3 separate regions of the Homo sapiens genome follow, and all the other regions are linked to region 1. The links are contacts of gene promoters, found by promoter capture Hi-C in blood cells and fetal thymus (Javierre and others, 2016). All regions are on one chromosome and are shown on one strand. The core of a region is centred on a gene start or on the middle of the fragment in contact, and the rest is flanking DNA. Distances in the headings are between cores, read along the strand shown. Region 1 holds the start of NUCKS1 (nuclear casein kinase and cyclin dependent kinase substrate 1). Region 2 overlaps CTSE (cathepsin E). Region 3 has its middle 12 kb from the start of CTSE.

Region 1 (3,305 bases), core at 297-2,796:
GGAATGACATGGAAGAGACAAAAGATATTAATTTGTTTAATGCTTCACTGGTGGACTGTGCTATTCTCTTCTTTTTGGGAAGCCAGATTTTACAAAGGGAGACTTTCAGGAGGCAGATGTGGTGTGTTTTTTGTTGTTGTTGTTTGGAAAGTGTATCTTCAATTGGTTGTTAACTGACTGCTCATTGGAGACTTCTGCCAGATGCGCCCAGATCATTAGTCCGTTTGAATCATCACGTCTTCCAGGCCCCACCCTACTCTCTGATAGGCCCCACCTTCACCGTGGGGTCCTGTTAGTCAAGATGCTCTGAGAGCGCACAGCCACCAAACAAAAATGATCGCTTTGACTGTGACAGGGATTGACGTCTATTTTCGATAGCAGACTCAGCCTTAGCCATTCACATAGGAATCCTGAGCTCTGCCTTTGAGAGTATTAGGCATCCAACAAATGCTCACGGATTTAAGTGAAATGATGTGCGTTACTTTCAGTTATATGACTTCGAAGAGTCTTTGTTTTGTTTTTCAAAGTGCAAGGGTAAATCAATAGAATTCATAGGGTCTTGAGCCAGCTCCACCCATCTCTACCCAGGGACGGAATCATCTTTTAAAACTTGGATTTAACACTTACGTAGCACTTACTGTGAGCCAGAGACTATCCTAAAGACTTTTGATAGATATATCAACTCATTTAATACTAATAAGCCTATGCAGTTAGGTACCCTTGTTTCCCATTTTACAGATGAGAAAACTGAGGCACAGAGAAGGAAAGTTATACCACCATTAAGTAGTGGACCTGGGATTCCACCTGAAATACCTTGTGGCCCCTGAGCTCATGCTCTTAGTTATTGTACACCTGACTCTTTTCTTAAAATAGTAATGCACCAGACTGGGACTTTAATGACCCTGAAGTGGATCTCAAGGTCCAGAATGGAGAATGGTAATTGGGGGTGAAGATATTCCTTGATTATGATCCTGCCTCTCTACTCCAGCAGCCTCATTTGGTCCCTGAGGGTTAATGCCGAAGCCAGGGTAAGGGGCTTGTAGGTTTAAGGTCAAATTTTTTGAACCTAAGGAATTTCCCTCCAATTCTGTAGCAGCCCCGCAGTGACGAATCTGCTGCCTCTCCCACGGGTTTTGCTATTAGAGGATTTTCAAGGTGATCAAGGCAGACGAGATGAAACACCATTAAACTAACACTGAGCAACGCTGAACCCTACATAAATCTTTTTTTCTAGTCTTTCTAAGATACGACCCCAGACGAATCTGCAACTCTGGAGTGGAAACCAGGGGGCGGGCTAAGCAGCGACCATTTTTGTTTTGCGGCCGTGCGCTCTCAGAGCATCTTGACTAACAGGACCCCCACGGTGAAGGTGGAGCCTATCAGAGAGCAGGGCGGGGCCTGGAAGACGTGATGATTCAAACGGACTAATGATCTGGGCGCATCTGGCAGAAGTCTCCAATGAGCAGGCGTGTTGGGGAGGAGCGCACAAACCCTAGTGGGTTTGGTTGCACGGCGGCTTTGGCGCATTTTCGGCTGGTTTGATTCATCCATTTTGAAGAGACGGGGGAGCGGGGGGCTCGTCTGTTCCAGGAGCCCTGAACCAAAGAGCAGCGGAGTTTGAGAAGCCAGCAGCTCGGGGTTCGGCAGCAGCGGTCCCATCGGCTGAAGTTCGGGGGGGGTGGGGCGCCGAGCGCGCGGGGTGGGGGGGGTCCTGGTCTTTGGCTTCTCGACTCGGTCCTGTTTCGACAGCGAACATGTCGCGGCCTGTCAGGTCAGTGCGGAGTCTGAGGCCTGGAGCGGGTTGGAGGGGGATGGGGGCGAGTGGTGAAAAGAGTGGGGGACAGAAGGCTAGAGTCCGCCATCCCCGGTGCCGCGCGCGGCCTCCTCCCTTTCGGGGCCCGCGCGCACCCTTGAGCGTGGGGGGCCCTGCTGGCGCGCGGGGGTGGTGGCTGCGCGCCCGTGCGCGCGCCCCTCCCCGCCCCGCGCCGCTGCAGGGCTCCGGTCTGCTCAGCTGCCTCCCCCACCCACCGCACTAGAGCGGGCGGGGTGTCCCTGAGCCGCCAGCGGCCGGAGGGGGAGGGGTGTGAAGTCAGCGCCCCCAAGAGGCCCCACCTCCTCGGGGCCGTCCCCTTGGAGCCAGCGCGGGGAGGCGGGCGGACTCGAGCTCCACTCCCCACCTTCAGCGAGGAGGGGCGGAGGCACCCGTATTGCCCCTTCCCCCAGCGACTGGCGCGGGGGTGGGGGCCCTGAGCCCTCTCTGTAGCGGACGGGGGTGTTCCTGGCAAAGGGGGAGGGGCAGCACTGCCAACCGGCCCCGCCTCTGTCCTTCGGGGTCGCTGCAGGCCCCGCCTCCCGGATCGGGCCGAGCGTGGGCGGGACCCGTTTTTTTCCCCCCGGGCAAAAGTGAGAGTTCGGGACTGGATCCTGGAAAATAATGGGCTGCTGCCTCTCTCCCCACCTCAGAGTTTTGAGAGAGTTAACCCCAAAGTTCGCTCTTTCTCTCCGACTAGAAATGTCCTTCCTCGGGGAAATGTCCGTACTCAGGGAGGTGCGGGTTAACAGCACGGCCCAAATCCCGTGTGGTTCTCGTTCCACTCTCACCCGCGTACGCGTCTCGGGATATTTTTGTAACCCTCTTGTCCCCGAGTGACTTTAGTAATAAAAGGGCTAGGTTCGGGTAACCATCAGACTTCATTCTCGGAATTTCAACAAGTTTGCTATTCCCCCAGCTGTCGGTGGAATCGTCCTATGCCATTCTCCAGGCTATTGTATGGAATGTGCCATTTATGGAGGGGTGTGGTTTAGTCCAATCTGTTGAGGCCTTAAAAAGGAGAGCTGTTGCAAATAAATATTTTTAATGTAAGGAATTGGCTTCTTTGCATAGTGTGTTTTCTAAATAAATAGATAAAGGCTTAGTTTTTAAATGTTTTAACAGTCGTTGCTTCCCCTTCATTCCAAGTTGTGTGGGAAACGGAAGTACCTTTAATTAGAGTTCTAAAGAGAGGTTTGGGACCCTGGCAAGGGTTTTGTTCTACACCGTTCTGTCTCCAGACTAGATCATCCTCCAACTGGTGGTGGTATGAGACTGCGTACTCCTACACACGGGGTGGGAATGAGGAGAAAGCTGCTGTTAGCTCTGTTTCAATCAGCATCTGTGGTAACTCACGATCTCTACTCTGAAAGTTATGCTGGCCTTTTGGCAAGGAGTCTGGATAGCTCTTTCAGAGTATAGTTTGCGTAATTTTTTTGGCATAAAACTTGACCAATGTATCCATCAACTCACGTAGAATATTTTCTTTAGGATC
Region 2 (3,376 bases), core at 388-2,887, 260 kb before region 1:
TAGACGTGTGGTGTTGGCACAGAATTTAAAAAATAAACAAATGTAACAGAACAGAAAATACAAAACTATCAACACAGTCATCTGACTTGCGTTGAACAAGATACTGCAGTATGTGGAGGAAATGATGGTATATTTATTAAATAGTGCCAGGTCATATGAATATCCAGATAGAAAAAAATAAATCTTAATTCCTACCTTACACATTATCACATTTCATATAGGTTCCAGATCGCAATGTGAAAAGTAAACAATAAAGCTTTTAGAAGAAAACATGAGAAAATGTTTTCATGACCTTAAGGTAGGCAAAATTTTCTGAAACAAGTTACAAAAAAACAGTGTACAATAAGCACATGATGAGTGACAGAAGCCAGATACCAAAGAGTTCATATGGGATGATTCCATTTATATAAAATCCAAAAAATAGGCAAAACCAATATATGTTATTAGAAGTCAGGAGACTGGCTCTTCTTGAGGAGGGGCGCAATGATTGGCAGGTGCATGAGGGCTTCTGAGGTTTGGAATGTCCTGTTTTTTGGGAATATAGCAAGCATCTTTGTGCTCATTTAGTCAAGGAAAGTTGGGAAGGAGAGGCATTAGCTTCAAGACAGAGGAAAATCCAGGAGTCAAACCCTTTGCCAGCAATCCCCTGTGCCATTCTCCTGTTCTCCTGTGGGCTTTCTCCTACCAGGTGGAAGGACTAACCGTGGTTGGCCAGCAGTTTGGAGAAAGTGTCACAGAGCCAGGCCAGACCTTTGTGGATGCAGAGTTTGATGGAATTCTGGGCCTGGGATACCCCTCCTTGGCTGTGGGAGGAGTGACTCCAGTATTTGACAACATGATGGCTCAGAACCTGGTGGACTTGCCGATGTTTTCTGTCTACATGAGCAGGTAAGGCCCATCAAGTCTGTGAGGTTAAAGTCAGTTATAACTACAGGGAGACAACACATACACTTGACTTAGCAGTCAAAAGACCTGGTTTAGGTAGCTTGGTCCATTACCAGCTGTGTGATCTTAGTCAAAACATTTAACCTCTCTGAATATTGAGGAAATGGGATTTGCTTCATCAAGTAGCTGTAAAAACACTTTGTAAACTCTACCACACTGGCTTAAATTTAAGGAATCTCTGGGATTGGTTCTTCATTGATGCTGTCACTAAATATCAAGCTCCTATTATATGCTGATTATGATGCTCACACTGGGGACCCAGTGAAACAAGAAAGACAGTACCTGCAGGAGGAGGAGGCAGAAAAAAATGAAAAGCTGACAATAAAATAATTGCATGCTGATGGATGAATAAACAAAATGTGGCATATCCAAATAATCAAATATTATTCAGCCTTAAAAAGGAAGAAAATTCTGAGACATGCTACAACATAGAAGAAACTTGAGGACATAATGCTAAGTGAAATAAGCTAGTCACAAAAAGACAAATACTGTATGATTCCACTTAGGTGAGGTACCTAGACTAGTCAAATTCATAGGCAGAAAGTAGACTGCCAGTTGCCAGAGCCTGGGGAGGGGAAGTGAGGAATTCTTAAACCGTTGTTGATGGCCTAATGGGTATAAAGTTCCAGTTCTGTAAAATGAAAGGTCTGGATTTTACAACAGTGTGAACATACTTAACACTACTGAATTGTAGACTCAAAAATGGGTAAGATAGTACATTTTATGTGACATATTTTTACAACAATTTTTAAAATTGCACATTGTTTTTGGAAAAGGTCATGAGGCTCACCTGTTTCTAGGCACTCTTGCCCGGCATCCTTGGAGGGTCATCTCCTCTTCCTCCTTACACAGGAAGGTGATTTCTGACCTTGCTGACTTTTTCCAGCTCAGACCTGGCCTGCGTTCACACTGTTTCAGCATAAGCCCATTCCTCTCATTCCCCTCTCCCACATGGAGGGTCCTGGATTTTCCCTATCAAGCTATGTTTCCTCTCCAGCATGACAGCACTCAGGACCAGGCCTAGGAAGAGCTGTGAGTAAGAGAGGCAAGTTGTCTAGACACCTCTGCTTCCCCTTGCAGAACTTCCTTCTCCCGTCGCCTGGGAAAAGTGGGCTGTAATGGAGAATATCAAGGCTTGGCAGTCAGACTGGCCTGGATTTGAATCCTGCCACTTACATTGCTTCATCTCACTGAGGCTCAGTTTCTTCCACGGACCACTAGGTTGATGTGAGTTAAATAAGTTTAGACAGATAAAATCCCCACTACACGGCCTTGCACCAAGGTAATCAACAAATGTGAGTTCCTTTCCCCACTCCCTCTGTAAAACCACTGTCCTAAAATTCCTACAGGTATTCACTCCTCTCCCTCTTTACCACCCTGATTTCAGTTTTGTATCTTTCTGATCCTTTTCCTCCTCAAAATGAATCTGTCTTAGGTCCTATTTCTCCAGAGTCCTGCTAGGTTCCAGAACATAATCTGAGAAATCAATACCAATGAAAATAAGTTTTCAGGCTCTAGTAAGTCATGATACATTCATATTAGCCTCTTTGCCTTAACATAAGGAGTGAATAACACAAAAACGCCAGGCACTGTCACAACCATAGTGGGGAAGATACTTTGGGAAAAGGTGTCTTTGGGGGTTGCTTCAAGCCACACAGTGTATACCCACCCAGGATGGTCCTGGCCTTGGTTCTGAATGACAGACCTGCTGGCCCCATTTCCCACCTCCTTAACCTTTTTATCCAAGAAGCAGAAACACATTCACAAATGGTCAAGGGGAGTTGTTTCTAACCTTGTGTCAAAAAGGCCCAGACCAATTCACTTGCAGTAGTCAGAGTCCCGGTCTCAAAGCCCAGACTGATGTTTCTGCCTACCTGTGTGCTTGGCATGAGACCAAGAAGCAAAGGGTCCTAGCTGAGGCTCACCCCTAGAGTTTTGCAGTGGCCCTTCCTGGACAGTTTGTCTTTCTCTCCATGTAGTAACCCAGAAGGTGGTGCGGGGAGCGAGCTGATTTTTGGAGGCTACGACCACTCCCATTTCTCTGGGAGCCTGAATTGGGTCCCAGTCACCAAGCAAGCTTACTGGCAGATTGCACTGGATAAGTGAGTATTCCCCATGAAGTAGTGACAGTACTAGGGGTAAACTGAAAAGAGGCACAACTCAAACCGATTTAACTGAAAAACCACTGGTCACTAGCAGAGGATGCCAGAAGCTTACTGTGGTTGGAGGTATGGAGGTGCTGAGCAAGTGTGCAGGAAGGGACCTCTGTAACCAGGGCAGCAGACACAGCTTCCTTCCTTGTACACATGGCGTGCTTTTAACTCAACATACAGTCAATACCAGTGCACAGCCTGCTCCCCTTTGTTCTTTTAACATTAACACACAAGGCAAGGGATGAGTAACATGGGGGGTTGCACAGGTGAATTGGGCT
Region 3 (3,357 bases), core at 645-3,144, 290 kb before region 1:
AAACTGTAAAAGTTCTCTTTGTTTTATAGAGATGAGAAGCTACTTGTCCTAGGCACTTAGTAAATTAGGGACCATGCCAGCACTAGAATGTACCTAGGTGCTCCAAGACCTGGATGGACTTGTTCCTTGCACAATCTAGAAATCTGTGATAAAGAATAAATAATACAAGGTGTCCTTAATGAGCCCCTTCCATAGGCAGGTATAATAGAACACACAAATGAGTGGGGGGACCCCTGTAGATTCATCTCAAATTATGCAAAATATGAAGCCACATGCTACTGGTGGGGGAAAAACCTGCCTGCCATGTGCTACTGGTGGGGGAAAAACTTGCTCTTTGAGTCAGGTGCACCAGGGTTCAAGCCCTGACCCTGCACATCTTACTAGGTGGATGATTTGGGGTGGGGCAGGTTATCAGAGCTCTTGAGTCTTAGTCTCTTTATCTGAAAAAAGCAGAGAAAACAATGCCTATCTAGCCAAATGAAAATAAATTTAAAGAAGATAACACTTGTAAAGCTGGTAACTTAGATGCTCAATTAAAGTCAATCCCTCTCCTAATTGCTGCTGCCTGAATTTCTTTTTTTTTTCTTTTTCTTTTTTTTTTTTTTTTGAGATGAAGTCTTAGTCAGCCAGGATGGAGTGCAGTGGCTTGATTTTGGCTCACGCAACCTCCACCTCCCAGGTTCCAGCGATTCTCCTGCCTCAGCCTCCTGAGTAGCTGGGACTACAGGCGTGCACAACCACACCTGGCTAATTTTTGTATTTTTAGTAGAGATGAGGTTTCATCATGTTGGCCAAGCTGGTCTTGAACTCCTGACCTCAGGTGATCCACCTGTCTCGGCCTCCCAAAGTGCTGGGATTACAAGCATGAGCCACTGCACCCAGCCTGAATTTCTTTACCTTAGAACAAAGGGTGCAATTATAGGGAAGGCTTAAATGACATGATCAACACATTTGCTAAGGAATATCAGTGATTGGACAAATACAAAATACCCAGGAGATCCTGCTGTGACCAATAAAAGATTCCGAGGGCTTTAGACGCCCAGTAAGAAGGGCATCTCTAGTCTGATTAGAGTTTAAAGGGAGCAAGAAAGGATGGGAGAGGGGAGGCCAGCGCAATATAAACCAGAGATGTTCAGTAGAAACAACACAAGCCACATGTGTAATTTAAAATGTTTTAGTAGCCGCACTTAAGAAGTAAAAACAAGCATGTAACAGTAATCTTAATAGTACATTTTATTTAACCCAATATATCAAAATGCTATTATATGAACTTGTTCTCATTTAAAAATTATTAGTATTTTTTGTTCTTTTTTCCTACTGAGTCTTCAAAATCAGGGTATATTTTACACTTGGAGTACACTTCAATTCAAGTTCTCACCATCCTGGACAGCACAGGTGTAGAAGTGTAGGTAAATCCCCATGTCCATCCACTGTGCTGGGTGTTGGGGGACCAAAAAGTCTAGATTAGAGCATGGGTTTACCCTCAAGGGACTCTGTATCTAGTTAGGGATCTAGAACAGATGGAGAACATTCACCCAGCAATATACATTTGCGTGTAGGTTCCCACACTGCTTATCATAAGATACTTAACCTGCAGCTCAAGCCTTTTCCTATAAGCCTTAGACATACCCCAAGCACAATATTCCTTCCCATTGTCCACACAAGCAGTTGTCAGACGATGTAATCGATTTGGGGGTTTGGGACATATAGCACCCTAGAAAACCATTCAAGGGAAGAGGGGGATGCCTTGCTTTCTAATCCCTTTAGACTACAGAGTGCCCACTTTATATTATGTGAGCCCAAATTCCAGACAAGTAGGAAAGAAACTGAAAGAGAAGTCTCAACCCTGCACAGAATGTTTACCTGTCTCCTGGAGCGGCAGCGGCAGCGGGAGGAGCCATCCATGTTGAAAAGGCAGAGTCTCTCACTGCCAGCTGCACCCACCCTGCCCAGTCTCTTTCCCTTGCCCCTCCCTTGAGAGCCTCTTCATTTCCTCCACTGCCTGGCTCAGCTCACAGGGAGACTCACACCGCCCCAAAATGAAAAGCCAGTGGCTGATGTGGCTTGTAGAGCAATTTTCATGCTGTGCAGGCATGAGCCTCGGCAAAACCAGACATTGAAGTTTGCTTTAGATTCCCTAGCATTTTCTGGAAAGCCCTTTCCCCCTTTCTGCAACCCCATCCCTGTAGACTCATCTCAGATAATGCAAAAACCAAGCTATGTGCTGCTGGTCGGGGAAACAACAAGTTTAAGGAAAAACCAGGTTCTTCCTCAGCTATTTCTGCTGAGACACGAATTCATAGTAAGGAGTTAATACTTTGTGGGCCATCTTTCGCAGGGATATTTGCATTTTTTAAAGACTGAATAATAATTTTAAAAAAGAAGAACTCAAATGTATTGAGTGCTTACTAGCTAGTGGGCACTGTGCTAAGAGGGTGATGCCTCACTCCAGGGAATGACCGGACAATGGTAGGATTTCAAGCAAGGTGGCACAGGCGGAACAGAGGTATCTTCCTGGTGCTTTCAGTAGACAACTCCTATGTGACCCTAACATGAGGAACAGTCTGTGGAGGATATAAAAGAGCTGCACTTTTTTTCCCCCTTAACTTTTACATTTTAGCACCATTTTCTTTGTTTATGGACTGAGGGCAGAGGAATTAAATTTGTTTTCATCCATCCATTCACTCGCTCATTCACTCAACAAACATTTATTGAGTGCCTACTCTGAGCCAGGCATTGGACTAGGTGCTGGGGGTACAGCAATGATCAAGATGGGTGAAGCTCTGCTGTCATGAAACTTACAATACAGTGGGGAAAGACAGGCAATAAGCAAAGAAACAAAACAAGAGAATTACGGACTGTGATCATCCTATAAACCAAATGAACAAGAGCGTGTGATAGAGGCAACTAGGGAGTAGGATGGAGGCTCTTTAGATCCAGGCTGCGTGGGGAAGCCTCCTGGAGGAGGTAATGGGGTTTTTCTGCATCCCCACTGGTGCTCCTTCTTGGCCTCCTTGGCTTCCTCTTCTTCCTTCACCTACCTGCAGTCTTCAGAGCACAGTCCTGGGGCTTCTCCTTCTTCTACAAACTCTCTCTGGGTGCTCTTGGCCAGTTTCATGACTCTAACCACTTTCTATTCACTGATAATCTCCCAAATTAATATCTCCAGCCCTAACAAGCCTATGACCACCAGACCCACACATTCAAGGGTCAAGCTGATATCACCCCTGAAAAGTCTACTGGCATCTCAACTTAATATGCTCAAACAGGCCTCTCGACTCTCTGCTCCCTCCAACCTGTTCCTGCTGCCTCAATCCCTGTACTCCGTAAATTATCTACCTGACGGCGCAAATGAAA

What was found. The method cuts DNA at HindIII sites, captures the fragments that hold promoters and counts their contacts. A CHiCAGO score of 5 or more calls a contact.
Region 2: a contact is called between a fragment that was not itself captured here and the fragment with the promoter of NUCKS1 in region 1, in 1 of 17 cell types (naive B cells). The highest score is 5.1, in naive B cells.
Region 3: a fragment that was not itself captured here is called in contact with the fragment with the promoter of NUCKS1 in region 1 in 1 of 17 cell types (naive B cells); the score reaches 5.4 in naive B cells.

Annotation. Positions count from the first base shown.
Region 1 is chr1:205,748,423-205,751,727 of GRCh38, reverse strand. NUCKS1 (nuclear casein kinase and cyclin dependent kinase substrate 1) reads left to right here and starts at 1,546. Exons shown (of 7, transcript NM_022731.5): 1 at 1,546-1,771. The coding sequence starts at 1,755. RefSeq lists an enhancer at 1,103-1,352 and a silencer at 1,773-2,372. The HindIII fragment of the contact is 8,985 bases long and covers 1-3,305 here.
Region 2 is chr1:206,013,443-206,016,818 of GRCh38, reverse strand. It overlaps CTSE (cathepsin E), which reads left to right. Exons shown (of 9, transcript NM_001910.4): 5 at 689-888; 6 at 2,925-3,047. Among named protein-coding and RNA genes, the nearest start is that of CTSE, 8.8 kb to the left of the region's middle. The HindIII fragment of the contact is 2,766 bases long and covers 255-3,020 here.
Region 3 is chr1:206,033,806-206,037,162 of GRCh38, reverse strand. No RefSeq gene overlaps it. Among named protein-coding and RNA genes, the nearest start is that of CTSE, 12 kb to the right of the region's middle. RefSeq lists a silencer at 331-410. The HindIII fragment of the contact is 4,129 bases long and covers 1-3,357 here.